Linked DNA regions of Homo sapiens: all the other regions are linked to region 5. The links are contacts of gene promoters, found by promoter capture Hi-C in blood cells and fetal thymus (Javierre and others, 2016). All regions are on one chromosome and are shown on one strand. The core of a region is centred on a gene start or on the middle of the fragment in contact, and the rest is flanking DNA. Distances in the headings are between cores, read along the strand shown. Region 1 overlaps CYLD-AS1 (CYLD antisense RNA 1). Region 2 overlaps CYLD (CYLD lysine 63 deubiquitinase). Region 3 holds the start of LINC02168 (long intergenic non-protein coding RNA 2168). Region 4 overlaps NOD2 (nucleotide binding oligomerization domain containing 2). Region 5 holds the start of HEATR3 (HEAT repeat containing 3). Region 6 has its middle 13 kb from the start of LINC02128. Region 7 overlaps CYLD (CYLD lysine 63 deubiquitinase).

What was found. Contacts are between HindIII fragments. The CHiCAGO score rates a contact against its expected background, and 5 or more counts as called.
Region 1: a fragment that was not itself captured here is called in contact with the fragment with the promoter of HEATR3 in region 5 in 8 of 17 cell types (neutrophils, monocytes, naive CD8 T cells and 5 more); the score reaches 10.8 in neutrophils.
Region 2: a fragment that was not itself captured here is called in contact with the fragment with the promoter of HEATR3 in region 5 in 8 of 17 cell types (naive CD4 T cells, naive B cells, neutrophils and 5 more); the score reaches 11.0 in naive CD4 T cells.
Region 3: a fragment that was not itself captured here is called in contact with the fragment with the promoter of HEATR3 in region 5 in 9 of 17 cell types (naive CD4 T cells, total CD4 T cells, naive B cells and 6 more); the score reaches 11.8 in naive CD4 T cells.
Region 4: a contact is called between a fragment that was not itself captured here and the fragment with the promoter of HEATR3 in region 5, in 8 of 17 cell types (neutrophils, naive CD4 T cells, naive B cells and 5 more). The highest score is 16.4, in neutrophils.
Region 6: a contact is called between a fragment that was not itself captured here and the fragment with the promoter of HEATR3 in region 5, in 5 of 17 cell types (non-activated CD4 T cells, naive CD4 T cells, total CD8 T cells and 2 more). The highest score is 7.0, in non-activated CD4 T cells.
Region 7: a fragment that was not itself captured here is called in contact with the fragment with the promoter of HEATR3 in region 5 in 5 of 17 cell types (naive CD4 T cells, activated CD4 T cells, non-activated CD4 T cells and 2 more); the score reaches 9.5 in naive CD4 T cells.

Annotation. Positions count from the first base shown.
Region 1 is chr16:50,737,547-50,740,385 of GRCh38, forward strand. The region is part of intron 3 of CYLD-AS1 (CYLD antisense RNA 1); the gene reads right to left. Among named protein-coding and RNA genes, the nearest start is that of CYLD, 3.1 kb to the right of the region's middle. The HindIII fragment of the contact is 5,372 bases long and covers 1-2,839 here.
Region 2 is chr16:50,758,903-50,762,021 of GRCh38, forward strand. The region is part of intron 5 of CYLD (CYLD lysine 63 deubiquitinase); the gene reads left to right. Among named protein-coding and RNA genes, the nearest start is that of CYLD-AS1, 18 kb to the left of the region's middle. The HindIII fragment of the contact is 8,236 bases long and covers 1-3,119 here.
Region 3 is chr16:50,805,442-50,808,297 of GRCh38, forward strand. It overlaps LINC02168 (long intergenic non-protein coding RNA 2168), which reads left to right and starts at 1,231. Exons shown (of 2, transcript NR_146573.1): 1 at 1,231-1,366; 2 at 1,977-2,188. The HindIII fragment of the contact is 6,211 bases long and covers 1-2,856 here.
Region 4 is chr16:50,719,855-50,722,811 of GRCh38, forward strand. NOD2 (nucleotide binding oligomerization domain containing 2) reads left to right here. Exons shown (of 12, transcript NM_001370466.1): 7 at 71-154; 8 at 2,768-2,851. Among named protein-coding and RNA genes, the nearest start is that of CYLD, 21 kb to the right of the region's middle. The HindIII fragment of the contact is 2,305 bases long and covers 550-2,854 here.
Region 5 is chr16:50,064,122-50,067,232 of GRCh38, forward strand. HEATR3 (HEAT repeat containing 3) reads left to right here and starts at 1,849. Exons shown (of 15, transcript NM_182922.4): 1 at 1,849-2,148; 2 at 2,246-2,418. The coding sequence starts at 2,011. HEATR3-AS1 (HEATR3 antisense RNA 1) reads right to left here and starts at 2,203. Exons shown (of 3, transcript NR_186390.1): 1 at 1,932-2,203; 2 at 570-686. RefSeq lists an enhancer at 1,657-1,951 and silencers at 1,802-1,851, 2,182-2,231, 2,312-2,571. The HindIII fragment of the contact is 22,013 bases long and covers 1-3,111 here.
Region 6 is chr16:50,825,932-50,828,894 of GRCh38, forward strand. No RefSeq gene overlaps it. Among named protein-coding and RNA genes, the nearest start is that of LINC02128, 13 kb to the right of the region's middle. The HindIII fragment of the contact is 4,535 bases long and covers 1-2,963 here.
Region 7 is chr16:50,780,797-50,783,966 of GRCh38, forward strand. It overlaps CYLD (CYLD lysine 63 deubiquitinase), which reads left to right. Exons shown (of 19, transcript NM_001378743.1): 10 at 450-615; 11 at 1,529-1,670. It overlaps CYLD-AS2 (CYLD antisense RNA 2), which reads right to left. Exons shown (of 3, transcript NR_187251.1): 3 at 3,063-3,170. Among named protein-coding and RNA genes, the nearest start is that of CYLD-AS2, 21 kb to the right of the region's middle. The HindIII fragment of the contact is 1,122 bases long and covers 734-1,855 here.

The DNA of each region.
Region 1 (2,839 bases), core at 134-2,633, 670 kb after region 5:
CTGATGCATGGTCATTTTTCCCCTCCCCTAGAATGTCAGCTTCTTGAGAACAGGAACCACGCTCACTGCAGTGTCCTCAGAGTCTACAAAGGTGCCTAGCACATAGTAGGTGCTCAATACATATTTGTTGAATGAAGGAAGGATCCACTTTCTTTATTAAAGGGGGCAGAAAATAGAAGTTGGGGCAGCTTATAAGAATGAGTCACCCTTTTTCTGACATCATTTGTGTCTCCTTGGTAAAGGAGGAAGATTCCCTGGGACATGGAACAATCCCTAATGCATCAACTGCCCAAAATGGGATCCAGATGTAGCAGAAAGTTCCCTTTAATAAAGAGCTTTCTGTGTGTGTTTTAAAAATCAAACATAGAAATTATTTGTCATTGATACCAGCAAATAGCTCAAATGGGAGAGCATGGATTTATAGTTCGGCTGGATTAGTTTAAAGATGATTAAAGTAATCCCCTTTATCTTATCAAAAAGAGCTTTTAGGTGGTCAGAGTAAAAGTCCTCAGACAGAATGTTCAGTTGCACTTGGAATTTCCCTTCCCTAAGAGATAAGCACATCTCAGAGATGGAAGACCTCAGCCCGTTATCCATGGATCAAAACACTGTGCTGGGCTACTGTGGAGAAAGCGCCTGTGACGTATCCTTGCTTGTGCGGATACCTGGTCCAGTTAGCCACTTGGCCTGGTGTTCATTCTGAATGCCCATATTCACAGGATTAGTGGGAAAATGGCTGGAACCATGGGAGGTTGGATGGACATCTGGGAGTTGCCATTTACTAAGATGGGGAGTGCAGAGGGATTGCAGGGGGTGGTGGTGGTGAATATCAGGAGTTCGCTTTTGGCTGTGTTGAGTGGAGATGCTGAGAAGGCAGTAGGATATAAAAGAGACACCAAATTTGGAGAGACTGCAAGTAGGAGGTACCCCGTGGTAGGCACTGGGAAGCATGGAGCAGGGTCTAGTCAATAATCATGACCGGTGCCACTGAGCAGGTTCCCTTGAGTCCTGACGGTGTGTTACTCTATGTCCCATGCCCCTAGCAGGCTACCTGGAGTTCACCGTCCTCCGTGGGGAAAGCTCCATTCAATTCAATAGCTTTATGTTAGGGTCCCGCTGTGTGCAATGAGAGAACTACATAAGACAGCTTAGAATCAGTGTTAGGTCAGGCACAGTGGCTCATGCCTGTAATCCCAGCACTTTGGGAGGCAAAAGCAGGAGGATCACTTGAAGCCAGGAGTTCAAGACCAGCCTGGGCAACATGGTGAGACCCTCATCTCTACTCAAAAGAGAAAAGTTAGCTGGGCATGGTGGTGCGTACCTGTAGTCTCAGCTGCTCAGGAGACTGAGGTGGGAGGATCACTTGAGCCCAGGAGACGGGGGCTGCAGTGAGCTATGATTGTGCCACTGTACTCCAGCCTAGGCAACAGAGTGAGACCCCATCTCAAACAAAAAACAAAAAACAAAAAAAGAACCAGTGTTATGTTCCCTGCAAAACCCTTCACAACTTCCCATTGCTCTTGGGATGGAGAACAACCCCTGTCCTTGGCTCCCAAGGCTCTTTTGTGCCTTCATTGTCTGCGCTCTGCCTCTTCCAGTTTCTTCAACAGGTCATGCACTTTCCTGTTTCCTATTTCTGGAGTGTTCCCCCTCACTCCTGCCTGCCAGTTATCTTTCCCATCTCATCTCAAAGGTGACTTCCTCAAACAGGCCTTCCCTGAGTGGCCAACCTCCCTTTAGGCATGCTCAGAGAGATTCTTCTTCTGAGGCTTACCACAGCCATAATTAAGTAAGTGATCATCTAATGAGTATTTTAGTTTGCCTTTTTTTTTTTTTTTTTTTTTGCCAGAGGGAGTGTGGCATCTCTCTTGTACACTGCTATGTTTCCTGGAACCTGCTCAGTAACACAACCGCTAGTTCCATGAACCCAGGACCAGGCTGGATGGAAGAGGCTGTGGGGTGGTGGATTGAGAGAGGTCATTAGTGAGGGCTGGAGCCCTCTGTGAAGACATGTCTGTAAAGGACTTTGACTAGGTCCTCCATGAAGGGAGGATTTGGAAGGCAGAGATGATGAGCATTTCAGTTGGGGAATCCATTTTAACAGAGGTGGAAAGAGTCTTGGCTTGGAATCAGGGTCTCGGCCCATCTCCTGAGTGACAGGGGCTTGTAATTTACTGTCTTTGGGCCTTCATCTACTACCTGTAAAATGAGAGGCTGGTTCACCAAGGACTGCAAATAATAGCACCATGACACTATCTCCCCATCTTATCCCCTGGCAGATATCTCTCTTCCCGGTGAGCCTGAATATAAGTTCAGAATTAGCTTTAACGCAATGTTCTAAGCAGCCATTCCCAATTGATAGGAAATGATAATTGAGATAAGCCCCATTTGTCAGGCTTGACTTGGATGAAGATCCCTTAGATGAAGTCAGGCCCCGGCACTGATTCAGTGAACGTATGACAGGACAGAGCCTGGGGACGAAAGCCCTATGGAAGTAGAGACCTCAGCAGCACCAAACACCATCAACAGAAAGGACACAAAAATAGGCCGGGCACATTGGCTCATGCCTGTAATCCCAGCACTTTGGGAGGCTGACGCAGGCAGATCACTTGAGGTCAGGAGTTTGAGACCAGCCTGGTCAATATGGTGAAACCTTGTCTCTACTAAAAATACAAAAATTAGCTGGGTGTGGTGGCAGGCACCTGTAATCCCAGCTACTTGGGAGGCTGAGGCAGGAGAATTGCTTGAACCTGGGAGGCGGAGGTTGCAGTGAGCTGAGATCGCACCATTGCACTCCAGCCTAGGCAACAGAGCAAGACTCTGTCTCAAAACAAAGAAA
Region 2 (3,119 bases), core at 30-2,529, 690 kb after region 5:
TTAATCCTTAAAAATGGGCAATGTGCTCATCATTTTCATATTTAAGAAACTTTTGGCTGGGTGCAGTGGCTTATTCCTGTAATCTCAGCACTTTAGGAAGCCGAAGTGGGCAGATCACGTGAGGTCAGGAGTTCGAGACCAGCTTGGCCAACATGGCGAACCCCCCCGTCTCTACTAAAAATACAAAAATTAGCCAGGCGTGGTGGCGGTCACCTGTAGTCCCAGCTACTCAGGAGGCTGAGGCCAGGAGAATCGCTTGAACCTGGGAGGTGGAGGTTGCAGTGAGCTGAGATTGTGCCATTGCACTCCAACCTGGGTGACAGAGCGAGACTCCATCTCAAAAAAGAAACTTTTTACTGTAGAATGTATTTGCAAAAGTATATATAACAACATATATTAAGAATAATAATGAACACTCATGAAACTGACCATCTAGGTTAAGAAACAGAACATTAGAAGTACCTTGAAAACCACCTGCAATACCTTGTTTTCATTATAATTGCAATCTCTCCCTAGAGGTGACCATTATTCTGATTTTTTCATTAATTATTTCCTTGCTTTTTATAATTTAATTATATCTCTGTAGCTAAACAATATACTGTTTAGCCTGCTTTTGAACTTAATGTAGTTAAAATCTTACTGATTTTTAAATTACTTGCATCATTTACTTAAAATGTATTTTGAGATTCTTTTCTGTGGATGAGGGCATTAGTAGTTTGTTCACTCTCACTGCTTCATAGTATATTTCGTCATGTGACTATCCCACAGTTTGGTGCCCATTGTAATATTAATGGACGCTTGGGTTTTAGGTTGTTTCCACCTCCTTTTCCACACTTGGTACTGATTAAAATTTTTGCCAGCCTGACAGCTGAGAAATGGTATCTCAAGGTGGTTTAAAAGTTTGTAGTTCCCTGATTACAAGTAGGATTGAACAGCCTTTTATATGTTTATACAACATTTGTGTCTTCTATTAAACACGTATTTTTTGCCTGTTTTTCTGTTGAGTTGCTCATTTATTGATTCATGAGTTCTCTAGTTTTAGAATTTTAATAAAACATCTTTTAATGTTTTGTTATGACATTTTAAACAGAAAAACTGAAAATTTTATATTGAGCATCCTTATGCATATCATCTAGATCCTACAATCAACATCTTACTTGCTTTATATGTATCTGTCCACCTCTCTATTCACGTACTTATCCGTCACGTTTTCTTGTGCATTTCACATTAAGTTGCAGATACCAGTTCACTTCCTCCTAAATACTTCAGTGTGCATCTAATTAACTAGAGATAAGTATTTAGGGTTTTCTTTTTCATTTCAGATAGAAGTCACACATATAATGACATACATATGGATTTATTTGGGTTCTAACTAATATATATATACCCTTGAATTAGAAACCTCTATCAAGTTATTAAAACAATTTTAAGAAGAAATCATTCATGTATCTCAAATCAAAATTAAAAAGTACAATAAAATATCTCATTTCCATTTTTATCCCCTCTGCCTCAGTTGCCTGCTTACTCCATCCTTCGTTTCTCACTAGTCACAGTTTTTATGAATTTCTTATATATCTTTCCAGTGTTTCTTTATACAATATAAATATTCTTATTCCCCCTTCCCTTTTAATTCAAGAAGTGTAGTAGATACACTATTCTGCTGTTTGCTTTATTCTCTTAATTTTATATGTTAGAACTCTTTGTATATTTGCAAACAGAGGTTCTTGTTTTTTATAGTGTATAATTTTCCATTGTACGGAAAAAAATTTCATAATTTATTTAACCAGTTTCCTATCAATGGACATTTGGGTTGTTTCTGACTTTTTGATATTGCACACAATGTTACCGTAACCTGTACATGTCTGTTTCCCACATGTGCTAGCATATCTGGAGGATATATATATTCCCAGAAGTGGAGTTGCTTGATGAAAGGGCGTATGCGTTGGTATTGTTCTGGATATTGTTAATTGCCTTCAGTCGTAGATATAACAATTTATATTCCTGCCAGTAGAATACAAGGGGGAACTTATAGCTTTCCCATGAGAGTGTGTTACTAACTTTTTTCCCAATCTGATAGATAAAAAATATATTTCAGTGTATATAATACATTTGCAAATAGAAATTTGCATTTCTCTGAGTGATGTTGAACATTTTTGCATATGATTAAGGGCAATTTTTCTTTCTGTGAACTGTTTGCATCTGTTGCCTATTTTTAAATTGGGTTAGGTTATTGGCCTTTTTTCTCACTGATTTCTTCATGTGTTAGGGTGGCAAACTCTTCTGTGATGCGAGATGCAAATGTTGCCCACTCTTCCACCCTCATTTGTCATTTGTCTTTTTTTAAAATTGCTTATTTTTCTGGTCACCCTCATTTGTTTTTATTGTGGTAAAATATACCTAACAGGATGTACCATTTTAACAATTTTTAAGTGTATAATTCAGTGTAAGTATGTTTACAGTTGTGCAACCATCACCACTATCTATTTCCAGAAATCTTGTTCATTATCCCAAATAGAAACTCTATACTCATGAAGAGATAGCTGCCGGTTCCTCTTTCCCTCCAGCCTCTGCTCATCTCTGTTCTCTGCTCTCTGTCCTTATGACTTTGCTTACTCTGGGTATCTCATATTAGTGGAATCATACATATGTCCTTTGGAGCTGGTGCATTTCACTTGGTGTGATGTTTTTGACTTTGGTGCTTTTTGCCTTGCAGGATTTATAAAATTTTTATGCTGTTGTATTCTTTTAGTTTTAATAGATTCTGGATTTTGAGTTACTGTAAGGTTATAAAGGAATTTCCCTGTGTTTTCTTCTAGTACTCTGTGGTTTTAGTACATATCTCTATATCTATCTATCTATCTATCTATCTATCTATATCTTTGACCCATTTCTGTTTTATGTGGTATATGATGTGAAATATAAATCCAATCTAGTTTTTATTTTTGCCCACAGGTAGAAGATACCCTGTTGTCTTAGTATCATTTATTAAAAAGTCCCTCTTTACTGGTTTGAGAGGCCACTTTCATCATACTAAATTTCCACGTGTAGCGTGGTATATTTCTGGACTTTCTATTCTGTCTTCCCACGTTTCAATACCACATTGTTCTTAATGATTTTTA
Region 3 (2,856 bases), core at 318-2,817, 740 kb after region 5:
GGTAAAATATAAAATAATTAGGAAGTAATGAGTTGCGAGTATTTGTTACCTTTATTTTAAGTATAATTTCATTTTAAGTTTATATAATTTGTAAGTTTATATACTTTGTTAGCTTAATAATTCAATAATAGATCCATCCAAGAACTGACTCGCAAAATTCCTGAAAATTTAATAATGGGCTCTTGTGAGCCATGGATGCCAGCTCCAGTTTACTTCTGCCATCATCTCAAACACACCTACAGGCACATATAGACTCCTGTGCGCTTCATTTTCTCCACAGCACTGATCCCCTGGCTGCATGGCTTATCGTGGGCTCCTCAGGACCTCCCCTAGTCCCTTTAATTGTCTTTCCTTACCACCTTGATCAGTGCCTGGCACAAACCTCCCGCCTCAGCCTCCTCAGTAGTTGGGACTGCAGGTGCACACCACCATGCCCAGCTGGCTTTTTACATTTTTGTAGAGAGGGGGCTCTCGCTATGTTGTCCAGGCTGTTTCAGCCTTTTATTCGTGGAAGCCCCACTGTCTATTGTCAGTGTGCTCAGAATTAGATTACTGTCCCCATTTCTTTTGAGAAAGCACAAGACGTCTCAGTCTCTAGTTCCCCAAATAATGCTTCCTCTCAGAAGTGGAGACATCGTAGGACTCCCCTGCTAGGGCTTTGATGAACTTTGAATGAAACCATGCACGGAAAGTGCTTATCACAGTGCCTGGCACTCCGTAGCCCCTGAGTAAACAGCAGCCACCAGTGGCAGCAGCAGCAGCATTAGTACTAATATCGTAAACATGAACTTGAGAGACAGGGTGCAAGTCTAATCAGCAGTTCTCTTTCTGCCTCTCATCTCCCTCCACGATCCTATTTTAAGCCACACTCTTTATCCTTTAGATGGTTTTATGAGATTGAGATTTTTCTCAGGCATCTTGTCCCTGAGTGCAGCAGCGCCATCTTGTGGTCATTACTGGTTATGGCGCTGTCCTAGATCTAAGCTCCCAAACTCCGAGCCGCAGCCAGAACCCAGGCTTGGGAGGCAGCAGGGATTTTGAAAGCCAATGTGGCAGTCGGGCCAACACACCAGATTACACACTACACCCTAAGAGGGTTTAAGTTTCCTCTGCGTCATTTCGGGACAGCTGCTTAGTGTTGACCATTTCTGTTTGTGGCTGTCCTCTCTCATAATGGGCTCTGTCTTGCCCTTTCTCTGCATCTGCTGCTCCCTCTGTCTTGAGCTTTCAGGCACCGTCTACAAACGGGGTTTAAAATGAGCTAGCGCCATCTACTGGGCGAATGCCGTAAGGTCGGTTGTGAGGTCCCGGAATCTGCAAAGGAATGAATGAATTACAAATCTGTGGCTTTATGGGGGGAATGTCGGTACGTAATAGGATTCTGATGTCACCTCCCTTTATTTGCGACCCTTTCTCAGTGTAAGCCTCATATCTACTGTGTTAACTTTAGTACAGGTTACTTTGTCAGGATCCCAATGTGAAAATCAACCACACTGTCTTCAGTGCTTCCCAGAGAGGGGTCTTTGGACCAACCTGCGTCGTAGTCATCCAGGGACATTTAAGAATGCAGGCTCCGGCTGGGCGTGGTGGCTCTCACCTGTAATTCCAGCGCTTTGAGAGGCTGAGGCGGGCAGGGCTTGAGGCCAGGACTTTAAGACCAGCCTGGGCAACACAGCAAGACCTTGTCTCTACAAAAATACAATAATAACAATAAAAATTAGACAGGTGTAATGATGCACTTCTGTAGTCCTAGCTACTTGGGAGGCTGAGGCTTGAGGATCACTTGAGCCCAGGAGTTGGAGGCTGTAGTGAGCTATGATCACACCACTGCACTTCACCCTGGGCGACAGAGCAAGACTCTGTCTCTAAAAAAGAGAATTTGGTCTTGGAGGCCCTGTGCAAAATCTACAGCATCAAGCTCTCAGGGTAGGGCCCTGGAATGTGCATTTTGAACACTTCCCCCTTTTCCCACCAAGAGAATCGGGCACACGCTGAAGTGTGAGAACCACTGCCATTATGGAGAAGAGGCTTCCCGCCCCCTCACCTGCCACTCTAGAAATCCAGAGAAGAGATTCCACTTGGATTAAGACTTGCATAAGTGGGGAGTTGAGTCCAGTCTCTTTCCCCCACTGCAATACCCTGTTGCGGTGACATGTAATAATAATAAAAAGACTTGCATGAACTCCTTTCTGTGCAAATGAGAGCAAGCATCTCTGACAAAACCACAGTGCCCCTGTCGCTCATTTTGTGTGTGGTTTCAGTGATAACAGACCCAAAGTCCTGGGACCAGCATCTGGCACACCATGGGGGCTCAAATGGGTCACTACTGCTGCTGTTACCTGTGTGAGGCCGGCTGGAGGCCTCCTCAGCATTCCTCACCCCCTCCCATCCACCTCTGCTTGGGAGGTGGGGGAAAATGGTTTATACTTTCATATCAAGGCTCGGCCTGCCACCTCGGGCCCTTCTCCCAGAGCAGGGCTCACTTCAAGCAAAGCACACAGCCATGTTGGAAAGATTCCAGTACTGAGGTCACCCCCTTCCTGGGTGGCACCTCTCTGAGCCTCAGTTTTCCCATTCCTAATACAGAGAATTGTATTAGAGTCTGTGCTGTCCCTTCCAGCTCTGACGTTCAGGGTGGCTCAGTGCTTTGGAAGCCCCTTCCCCATGTGGCACTTCCATGGTGTCTGGGTCTGGTGTGTGCAGAGACCCCCCCCCTCAGAATGCTGATTTCTCTTGCTTTGGTTCTTTCTCTGCCTGCTACCCCTAACCCATTTTGCACAAATTGTGAGCCATGTAGGTGCCCGATACACGAGTGCTTGGTTTTCAAAAGCCTTCATATTGTGCATACCTCATCCC
Region 4 (2,957 bases), core at 452-2,951, 660 kb after region 5:
CAGGGCACAGACGGCCCTCCTTTTCTGCCTGCCGCTGTGTTCTCTCAGCCTCCTCTGTCTTCCCTTCCAGGCTGGGGAATAACTACATCACTGCCGCGGGAGCCCAAGTGCTGGCCGAGGGGCTCCGAGGCAACACCTCCTTGCAGTTCCTGGGGTAGGTTGGATTCCAGGAAGAGGGACCTGCATGGAGGGGCTTGGGACTTTTGAGGATTTAGGGGCAGGTGAAACTCTTCAGCCAGGAGGCCCCAGAGGCAGCCCAGCTCCAGTGGGGAGGACAAGCCAGGGAGAGAGTGGGCGGCCCTTGACTGCCACCTTCATACTTGGTCTATGCCTGACAAACAGGAAGTTTGGGATGTTGGGGCTAGGGGAGGACAGTGCCCACGAGCTGGTGACAGGAAGCCCTCTGATCCTCAGGGGGCGCTAGGGCTGTACTTTAGCTGCATATTAAAACCACCTGGAAGCTTCTAAACACTATTGCCAGGCCTCCCACCCCAGACTGATGAAATGCAAATATCTAGGTGCAAGGCCCAGGTATCAGGAGTTTTAAAAAGCTTCCCAGGGGATGTACAGCCAGGGGTGAGGACCCCTGACCTAAGAAAGAGAAGGAAATGGGGAAGGATAGGAAGGCACCCAGGATAAGAGGGGCTGTGCTAGGTCCCTCGGAGCTCTTGCTCCCTGTAGGACCATGCTAGGGCCTGCCAGGGAGGGGAGTACCCCAACCTGCAGCCCCAGGGTGGGCTTCCTCTGTTTGCTAGGCACCCAGGCTTGCACCTGTGCTGTTTCCAGCAGCCTCTCTCCTATCCTGTCATGCCCTAGTGTGAACTGGAGTCCATTTGACAAGAACTGGGAGTTTTAGAACCTGGGACTGTAGGAAGAGAGAATAACCTTAGGGCCTAGGTGTTCCAGCCCATTTCACAGGGAGGCAAGTTGCCCCCAAGCTCAGTTTTTTGTTTTGTTTTGTTTTGTTTGAGATGTAGTCTCACTCTGTTGCCCAGGCTAGAGTGCAGTGGCACGATCTTGGCTCACTGCAACCTCCGCCTCCTTGGTTCAAGCGATTCACCTGCCTCAGCTTCTCAAGTAGCTGGGATTATAGGCACCCACCACCACGCCCAGCTAATTTTTGTATTTTTAGTAGAGACAGGGTTTCACCATGTTGGCCCGGCTGGTCTTGAACTCCTGATCTCAGATGATCCGCCCGCCTCGGCCTCCCAAAGTGCTGGGATTACAGGTGTGAGCCACCGCACCCGGCCCCCAAGCTCAGTTTGAGCCACAAATGGGACTATGTTGCTCTAGAAATCAACATCTTTTCCACACTGCATTAGTAGCAACAGAGTCTAGAACAAAGGAGGCCACAGCCCCACTGAACTCTCTTCTGCTTGAGGTCACATCTGCCACATCAGGGGTATTTACCTCTTTCAACACATATTTATTAGGGCACCTGTCTGGGCCAGGCGTTGTGCTAAAACCCCCAAACGCTGTCATATGATACAAAGTGTTCTGTAACTTGCTTGGTTTTTTTTTTTGTTTGTTTGTTTGTTTTGTTTTGTTTTTGTTGTTGTTTTTTTTTGCTTCGCCATATATTATAGGAATTTTTTTAGGTCATTATGACCTCTTTATTTACTTAATTATCTATTTATTTATTTTACTAATATTTACAGAAAGGGTCTCACTCTGTCACCCAGGCTGGAGTGCAGTGGTTGCAATCATAGCTCATTGTAGCCTTGAACTCCTGAGCTCAAGTGATCTTCCTACCTCGGCCTCCTGAGTAGCTGGGACTACAGGCACAAGCCACCATGCCTGGCCGATATTTTTATGTTTTGTAGAGACGGGGTCTCACTATGTTGCCCAGGCTGGTCTCAAACTCCTGGGCTCAGGTGATCCTCCCTCCTTTGCCTCCCAAAGTATTGGGATTACACAAGTGAGCCACCTTGCTCAGCCTGACCTCATTTTTCAAAGAGCTGCAGAGTGTTACATAATGTATTTAACTGGTCACTTTTTGATGACTATTAAGTTGTTTTCAGGTTTTTTGTTATTACAGTGTCATATCCCTGGGGCACAGAGCAGTGCTGGCACATAGCCAGAGCTCAATCGATACATACCTAATGAATGAAAGTACAGTGGACATCCTAATTCAGCCATTCTTTGCTAACTTGTGTACATACCTGTCCAGGGTAGGTCCCTAGAATACAGTCAATAAGTCAGAAGGTGTGAGTTGGGATCTACCTTTTGGAAAGGGATGTTTTCAAACTACAGTGAGTCAGAGGAGGATGGCCCAGAAGCTGGGGGAGTTGAAGCTGATGGCGTGAAGGAATTAGGGGTGTTAGGAAGAAGCAGGAGATAAAGAGCTAGCTTGCAGAAGAAGTGTTAGACTTGTTATGGGCAGGTACTGGAGGGTAGCTAAGGACTTGTGGGTGGCAGTTACCAGGAAGCGTATCTGAACTAAGTGTCAGAAAAAGTGTCACAACTGTAAATTACTCTTGTCAGTGAGTTCCTGTCCTTAAGGGTTAGGGCTGGGTAGCCCTCTACTATTCTCTAAGTCTGTAATGTAAAGCCACTGAAAACTCTTGGGTTAAGTTTGGCCATCCCACCCAAAAGATGGAGGCAGGTCCACTTTGCTGGGACCAGGAGCCCCAGTGAGGCCACTCTGGGATTGAGTGGTCCTGCCCCTCTGGCTGGGACTGCAGAGGGAGGAGGACTGTTAGTTCATGTCTAGAACACATATCAGGTACTCACTGACACTGTCTGTTGACTCTTTTGGCCTTTTCAGATTCTGGGGCAACAGAGTGGGTGACGAGGGGGCCCAGGCCCTGGCTGAAGCCTTGGGTGATCACCAGAGCTTGAGGTGGCTCAGGTAAGCTTCAGAGTCTATCCTGCAGTTTTCTTGGGGAGATCAGGTGAAGAGGGAGGAGCTGGGGCCAGTTCTGAAGGTCTTTGAACTTTATTTCTACCCCACAATG
Region 5 (3,111 bases), core at 599-3,098:
GCAGTGGCGTGATCTCGGCTCACTGCAACCTTTGCCTCCCAGGTTCAAGAGATTCTCCTGGCTCAGCCTCCAAGTAGCTGGGACTACAGGCACATGCCACCATGCCTGGCTAATTTTTGTATTTTTAGTAGAGATGGGGTTTCGCTATGTTGGCCAGGCTGGTCTTGAACTCCAGACCTCAGGTGATCTGCTCACCTTGGCTTCCCAAAGTGGTGGGATTACAGGTGTGAGCCACAGTGCCCAGCCCAAGATTGATCTTTGATAGGCCCAAATGCAACATGAGCTACACTTCTGTTACTCTCTAAAATTTGCCATAGTAATTAATTTCCCTTACTGGACAGTCAACTCTTTGACAGTAGGGTTACCATGGAATGGAAATTTTCTCCAGTAGAATGTTGACCTGAGCCTGGGCGTGGTGGCTCATACCTGTAATACTAGCACTTTGGGAGGCTGAGGCAGGCAGATCATTTGAGATCAAGAGTTCGAGACCAGCCTGACCAACGTGGTAAAACCCCGTCTCTCCTAAAAATAATAATAAAAAAAAAATAGCTGGGCATGGTGGCACATACCTGTAATCTCAGCTACTTAGGAGGCTAAGGCAGGAGGACTGCTTGAACTCCAAGGCAGAGGTTACAATAAGCCGAGATCGCACCATTGCACTCCAGCCTGGACAGCAGAGTGAGACTCTGTTTCAAAAACAAAAAGAAAAAAAGAAAATTGACCCAAAGCTATGCATATATTGAGTACTCACTCGTTACATGTCTAATTATAAAGACCACCTAAGATTCTCCTGTACTTTTCCCTCTGCTTAGTATTTACCACAATTATAACCAAAGTTATTCATATAATTATATATTCAACAGATCTCTCCCTGGACTGTAAATTCCATAAGGACAGGGAGAGAGGACAGGAACCAAACTGTCTTGATTACTGCTTTATTCCAATGCCCAGCACTGTACCTAGTACTCAACAAATATCTGCAAAAGAATCTCTTTGTTAAATACGTTTCCAAACATTTACATAGTGCTTAGTATCTGCCAGTCTCTGTTCTTAGCACCTTAAACATATGAACACATTTAGTCTTCGTAACAACTCCATGAGGTATATACTATCGATGTCCCCACTTCACTGATGAGGAAACTAAGGCAGGGAGATTAGGTTCTTAAGCGATTCTGTTTTATCAAATATAGACACACATTCGTTCCAAAACATTAACTAGTCTCTGTCTACGACAGGAGCTATGGGAGGTGCTGGGGACACAAAATAAAATCGTGGTTAATGCTTTTTGAGTACCTGCTATATATCAGGCTTGGTGTTAGGCACTTTACAGAACTTTATGAACTTTACAGAACTTACAATAACCTTGCAAGTTAGGTATTCTTAATCACATTTGATTATTTGTAGCCGGTGTTACTAACTTATTGGTTGCTTGATTGATTGATTGAGACAGGGTCTCGCTCTGTCGCCCAGGATGGAGTGCAGTAGCAGGATCACGGCTCACCTCAGCCTCAAACTCCTGGGGTCAAGTGATCCTCCGGCTTCAACGTCCCAAGTAGCTGGGACTACACACACACGCCACTATGCCCAGATAATTTTTAATTTTTTTGGTGGGGAGGACAGGGAGTGGAGTGTTTTCCTATGTTGCCCAAGATGGTCTCGAACTTCTGGCCTCAAGTGATCCTCTCGCCCGGGTCGGCGTTACTATTCTAGTCCAACCTCCTACTTACCCGGTAAACCCACAAGGCTCCGCCCCTTTGCCGAAGCTGGCCCCGCCTATGCCCTCTTCCACGCCTGCGCGCTCCGTGCGCCAGTTCCCCCCACCCCGCCCCGCCCCAACCCCGACCCGGCAGACGACGCGCCGTGCGCCTGCGCACGGCTTGCCCATGTGTGCTGCAGCCGTCAGCCGGCCCAGCTGAGCAGCAGCAACGGACCTTGTTAACGGCGCGGCAGCCTCCACCGCCTGCTGTTGCCCTCCTCTCTCGGTGGTCTGTCCGCCCAGCGCACGTCACCATGGGCAAGAGCCGGACGAAGCGCTTCAAGCGACCTCAGTTCTCCCCTACGGGCGACTGTCAGGCCGAGGCGGCTGCGGCGGCGAATGGGACCGGAGGCGAGGAGGACGACGGGCCGGCGGCGGAGCTGCTGGAAAAGGTGAGGCGAGGGCTCCGTCGGGCCGGGAGGCGAGACGAGGTTGCCCCGCGCGCGTGCGCATTGCGCGCCTTCTGACCCTTTTCGCTCTCATCCGCAGCTCCAGCACCCGAGCGCCGAGGTCCGCGAGTGCGCCTGCGCAGGGCTGGCCCGGCTGGTGCAGCAGCGGCCGGCACTCCCGGGCCTGGCGCGACGAGACGCCGTGCGCCGCCTCGGGCCGCTGCTGCTAGACCCCAGCCTGGCCGTCAGGGAGACTGCAGCCGGCGCGCTGAGGTGAGCCAGGAAGGGTGCGGGGCGGTGCCCACCGCTGGCCTCCCCCGCGTCTGGGCTGCGGGCGGTCGCAGCGGTCACCCAGCGCCTTCTGTGTGCCATCAGGCACTGGCCCGGTCTCCCGTTTGCAGAGATTTGAAGCCAGTCTCCAGGCTCCGGAGAAGCCCAGTATCCCCGCATCTCATCTGTCCACCTGGCTGCTTCACCTGCAGCGTCCACCTGCTCAGGCGTCCTGCCCTCACGCCTTGCGCACGTTTTACACTCTCCAAAAGCCCTCCTTAGGGTCCCTTGCTTGGATGAACTCTTCAGTTCATGTGTCAGGAATCGTTCTAGATGCAGGGGACTTTGAGCAGCCAAGACTTTTGAGCGAGATCTGTTGACAGCCAAGATCCCTGTCTTGGCACAAGTCATGTTGATGGGGAGACAGACAGGAAGCTAGTAAAAAGGTAAAACATAATATTAAATAGTGAGAATTGCTGTGGGAAAACGAGATGATGATGAGTTGGGGGTGGGAAGTTTGAATTGGGTGCTCTTGGGCCGGGCGCGGTGGCACACACCTGTAATCCCATTGCTTTGGGAGGCCAAGGAAGGAGGATCACTGGAGGCCAGGAGTCCAAGGCCAACCTGGGCAACATAGCAAGACCCCGTCTGTAGAAAAATTATAAACAATTAGTCGGGCATGGTGGTGGGTGCCTG
Region 6 (2,963 bases), core at 71-2,570, 760 kb after region 5:
TCAAGAGCCTTTTTAGACATTTTTTCCTAACGTCTCCCCCCATCCACTATGAAATGTAAATAACAGCCATATCATATATCTATTTATATACCATGATCCTTTGCAGGCTCACATATCATTATAATATCTAAAATTTTTAGCCACCAAGAACAAATTTTTGCCCCCTCAATGATATCACCTCCATTGAGAATGCATACAGTTATCAGATATGTGTTTTGCAAACATTTGTTCTCAATTTGTGACTTGTTTTTTTCATTTTTCTTAATATCTTTCGAAGAGCAGAGTTTTACATTTTTATGAAGTCCAATTTATCATTTTTTTATGACTTAAGCGTGTTGTTTTCTATCTAGGAATTATTGGTCAAAACCCAGGTCATGTATATTTTCTCCTAGAAGTTTTAAATCTTTAGCTCTTACATTTAAGTGGGTGAACCATTCCAAGTTACTTTTTGTATATGGTGCAACATAAGGGTTAAGTTTCCACTTCTTTTGAAATGAATGCCCCATTTTCTAGCACTATTATTGAAAATACAATATTTCCTCATTCAGTTACCTTGGTACTTTGTCAAAAATAAATTGACCATGGAGGTGTAGGTCTATTTCTGGACTCTTCATTCCATTCCATTGATCTATATGACTTTCATTATGCAAACACTACACCATCTCATCTGCAATTAGATAGCATTAATCCTCTAGCTTTGCTGTTCTTTTTTGAAATTGTTTTGGCTGTTCTAGGTCATTCATTGTTTTATGTAAATTTAGAATCAGCTTGACAATGTCCACAAAAAGCTAGCTAGAATTTGGACTGGGATTACATTGGATGTACAGAAATATTTGGGAAGTGTATTAGTCAAGGTTTTCCAGAGAAACAGAACCAACAGGATGTGTGTGTGTGTGTATGTGTGTGTGTGTGTGTGTGTGTATAACATATATATATTTATATTTATTATAAGGAATTGGCTCACATGATTATGGAGGCTGGAAATTCCAAATTTGCAGTGTGGTCTGGCAGGCTGAGACCCAGGAGAGCTGTTGGTGCAGATGAGGTCTGGAGGCAGTCTGCTGTAGAATTCCTTCTTGCTAGGGCAGGTCGAACTTTTCGTTCTATTAGGGCTCCAACTGATTGAATGAGATCCACCCCCATGAAGAAATGCAATCCGCTTATCAAAGTCCACCCATTTAAATGCTAATCTCATTCAAAAACATCCTCCAAGTTGACACCTAGAATTAACTATTGCAGGGAGGATTGACATTTTAACAATACTGAGTTTTTTGATCCATGAACCTGGTTTATCTGTATTCATTTTGGTCTTTTATAAAAATTTTTTTTCAGCAATGTTTTATAGTTTTCAGCATATAAATCCTGCATAGATATCATTAGGTTTATCCATAATTATTTCATGCTTTTTGAAGCAACTGTAATTTTTTTAAATTTAAATATTCAACTGTTAATTTCTAGTATACAGAAATGTCATTGATTTTTGTACAGTGATCTTGCAACCTGTGACCATGCTAACTAAACTCACGTAGATTTCTTTAAATATATATGATCATATTGATTATAAATAAAGACAGTTTTATTTCTTCTTTTTGAATATGTTTGTTTTTTATTTCTTTTGCTTTCCTTATTGCACTGGTTAGAACCTTTAGTACGATGTTGAACAGAAGTGGTAAAAATGGGAATTTTTTTCTTTAGTTTTTGTCTTTTTTTAATATTAACCAGGTCCTCACCAGACAGATAATGAGAATTTTTTGAATCTCTGTTATTAGATCTTTTGAGATGATCATTTCATTTTCTTTCCAGCTTATTGATGTGGTGAATTTACACATTTTTGGATGTTAATCCAATCTTGTATTTCTGGGTTAAACCCCACTTAGTCATGATGTAGTATCCTTTCTATATATTTTATTTTATTTTATTTTGCTGAATTTTATTTGCTCATGTTTTAATAAATATTTTTGAGTCTATGTTCATGGGTGACATTGTCTGTAGTTTTCTTGTTGTATCTTTGTCTGGTTTTGATATCAGGGCAATGTCGGCCTCAAAATGAGTTGAAAAGTATTACCTTCTCTTCTGCTTTATAGAAAAGTAGTGTTTCTTCATTGAATGTTTGGTAGATTTCACCAGTGAAACCATCTGAGCCCGAAGTTTTGTTTGTGAGAAGGTTTTAAACAATGAATCAAATTTCTTTAAAAGTTATATGAAAAGCTATTTCTTGTCAGATAAGCCCTGGTAGTTTGTGTCTTTTAAGGCTTTTTTCCATTTCATCTAAATTGTCAAATTTGTTGGTAAAGTCACCCTTAATATTACCTCTTTAACATTCTGATTTCCATAGGGTCTATCGTTGTGTACCTGCTTTCATTCCTAATATTGGCAATTTGTGTTTTCTGTCTTCTTTCTTGATCACTGTCTAAAGGTTTGTTGATTTTATTGACCTTTTCAAAGAACTAGGTTTTTGCTTTATTGATTTTTCCTATTTTCTCATGTTTTATCTTACTGATTTCTGTCCTAATTTTTATTTACTTTCTTCCATTTTGGTTTAATTTTCTCTCCTTTTTTTTCTTTCTTTCTTTTCCTTCCTTCCTTCCTCCCTTCCTTCCTTCCTTCCTTCCTTCCCTCCCTCCTTCCTTCCTTCCCTCCCTCCTTCCCTCCCTTCCTTCCTTCCTTCTTCTCTTCTCTTTCTTTTCTTCTTCTTCTTCTTTTTTTTTTTTGACAGAGTTTTGCTCTGTCACCCAGGCTGGAGCACAGTGGTGTGATATCAGCTCACTGCAACCTCCACTTCCTGGGTTCAAGCAATTTTCCTGCCCCAGCCTCCTGAGTAGCTGGGATTACACGTGCGTGTCACCATGCCTGGCTAATTTTTGTATTTTTAGTAGAGACGGGTTTCACCACATTGGCCAGGCTGGTCTCAAACTCCTGACCTCGTGATCCACCCATCTCAGCCTCCCAAAGTGTTGGGACTA
Region 7 (3,170 bases), core at 45-2,544, 720 kb after region 5:
GCATGAGCCACCACACCTGGCCAATTTAAATATATTTCTTTTTTTTTTTTTCTTGTTTGTTTCCATGCTAGTGAATACTATCTTATGGGGCATGGTGGGGAGGCAAGAATGAGGGTTAAAATAAATAGCCTTCTCCTTCCCTGCCTGTTTTAATGCTTGTAGAAATGGTGCGGGAAAGCCCGTTTAACCAGGGGAGGTTGAAGCATATATTCTGAAAGGAAATACAAGAAGGACTTCATGCTGGATTAAGGAAGTCACTTCTTAAATCAGTAGCTGTGGGCTGAAGCACTGATTACTCAACTCCTTTTTCTTGATGAGGTTCTCAGTACAGGTGCGAAGAGGGAGTGGTGAGAAAGGGTATACTAGAAACAGGTCTTAGAAACCTTAGTTCTTTGTATACTATCTCTGTAAGGCACGGTATAATGCATATTGAAGCATTTCTTTTTCAGGAAGATGAGTGTGCAGGCTGTACGGATGGAACCTTCAGAGGCACTCGGTATTTCACCTGTGCCCTGAAGAAGGCGCTGTTTGTGAAACTGAAGAGCTGCAGGCCTGACTCTAGGTTTGCATCATTGCAGCCGGTTTCCAATCAGATTGAGCGCTGTAACTCTTTAGGTATTTGGATGCTTTTTGTTTACTTAACAACCTGGAATGACTCTAATTCTAATCTCATATCATGTTATATTAGGTGATGGTGACAGTGTTTTAATATATTTCTTGCCAACGCTCATTAAGCTTTAAATCAGTAAAAATGTTGCATGGTGTATAAGAAAGTTGTTTTAAGAGGGGACATCTTAAAAAAGTATTAGGACGTGCGTTTGGGACTTATAAAGTGAATAATAGTGTGGTTTGTTTTTCTCTTCCTGTTGATGACAGACATTTAGTTTTCAGCAATACTAGTGGTAGAAATTGAAATGTAACCTTCTTTTTTTTTTTTACTGACTTCCCTCACAGTGTCTTGTTTACAGCAGTGAGTGTATCTTACAAAGAAATCAGCATTTTAGTGTAAGAAGTAGATTTCAACTGATTGCTGGAGGACAGCTCTCCTCATCATGTGTAATTGGTGGCAGTTTCCTGGTGCTGTTCCTTTCCACTTCTACATAATAGTGGAAAAGCATCTTGGGGCTTCAGCAGGTGCAAACAGGAAAGCCATCTTTATGAAAAACACTCTTATTATGTTGAAATAGTACTTTGGAATTTTCATTTTCTTTTCAAACTTGAAAGTGAAGCAACTTCAGATAAATAGTGAAATATTTGGGAAACATATTTTACTTGACAGATGCTTTTTACACATAATACTCTAAAGTGTGTTTTTAAATCTTGGAGGAAATGAAGTTGAAAATGAACAATAGCAATTTTTATAAGCCAAGTCAAATAGCAGTTAACCAAAGCCTACTTTCCACTTAAAGAAAAAATTTTGCATCAAAATACAAAAACATTTTAAAATGAAAAAATATTTATGGGAATACATATTGTAATAGTTTAAAAGAATTCTTTTCATTTACTTTTTTTAAAAAAATCTTTTCAGCATTTGGAGGCTACTTAAGTGAAGTAGTAGAAGAAAATACTCCACCAAAAATGGAAAAAGAAGGCTTGGAGATAATGATTGGGAAGAAGAAAGGCATCCAGGGTCATTACAATTCTTGTTACTTAGACTCAACCTTATTCTGGTAAGTTTAAAAAGAATGCAATAGGTATAGATAGTGCCATGAGGCAGGGACACATACCGGTGTGTGTGTGTGTGTGCGTGTGAGTGTGTGTGAAAGAAACTGCCATCTGCCTCTGAGTAGAGAAACTGGATGACTGTGGGTCAGGATTGAAAGGGAGATTTGCTTTTTATGACATACTCCTTTTAAGCTTTTGAATGTTGTCTCATGTTTCTGTGTCCAGAAAGGTGAATGATATTGGTACAATGGAATAGATATACAGAGGGTATCTGGGAAATCTTTGTGCATGTCTCAAACAACATAACTTGCAGTAAAGCCATTGGCTGTTATGTGCTGTATTTCTTTTAGTAGGTAAAGGCAGTCATAAAACTACTGTCTTTAAAAAAACGATTTTCAGTAGCAGCACTGCTGCCCTCATATATGCAATTTTTTCCAAAGTGGAACAACTTAAGATTTTTTTTTTTTTTTTTTTTTTTTTTGAGACAGAGTCTCACTCTGTCCCCCAGGCTGGAATGCAGCGGCACAATCTGGGCTCATTGCAACCTCTGCCTCCCAGGTTCAAGCGATTCTCTTGACTCAGCCTCCTGAGTAGCTGGGATTACAGGTGTGAACCACCACTTCTGGCTAACTTTCTTTTTTGTATTTTCAGTAGAGACGGGGGTTTCACCACGTTGGCCAGGCTGGTCTCGAACGTCTCACCTCAAATGATCTACCCGCCTTGGCCTCCCAAAGTGCTTGGGATTACGGGCATGAGCCACCACGCCCAGCCTTAACATTGCAAGGATCTTTAAGCTCTGGAAATTGAACCAAGAATCTTTAGGCTCTGAGGATTGTAGACTGGGCTAAATTGAGAGTAGCCTGCCAGTTCTGTAGCCATATGATAAGAATTAGGAAGTTAATATGGGATGTTAACATTTTTAAAGTAGGAAGAAGAATAAAGTGGCGGCCATTTTATTTGCAGAATACTTTGACAAAAACAAACCTTGTAGCATTGATATAATATTCTTTAGATTTCCTGATAAAAATCTATATTAGCTAAATTTTCTTTTTCTTTGATAACAGCAAGTTACTGCTGTCACTCGTTTATTTTTTTGAGAAGGAGTCTCGCTGTGTCGCCCAGGCTGGAATGCAGTGACGTGATCTCGGCTCACTGGAACCTCCACCTCCCGGGTTCAAGCGATTCTCCTATCTCAGCCTCCCAAGTAGCTGGGACTTCAGGTGCACTCCATCATGCCTGGCTAATTTTTGTATTTTTAGTAGAGACGGGGTTTCACCATATTGGTCAGGCTGGTCTCAAACTCCTGACCTCAGGTGATTCACCCGTCTCGGCCTCCCAAAGTTCTGGGATTGCAGGCATGAGCCACCGCACCTGGCCTGTTAGTCACTCATAAGTGATTTTAGCATTTAAAGAAATTTATTAATGTAATAGATCTTTGCAAAGGGGCATGGGGAGAGGGAAGTGGGGCACTGAATAGTGCTTGCCTCGGGAAGTCGTTTCCAAAT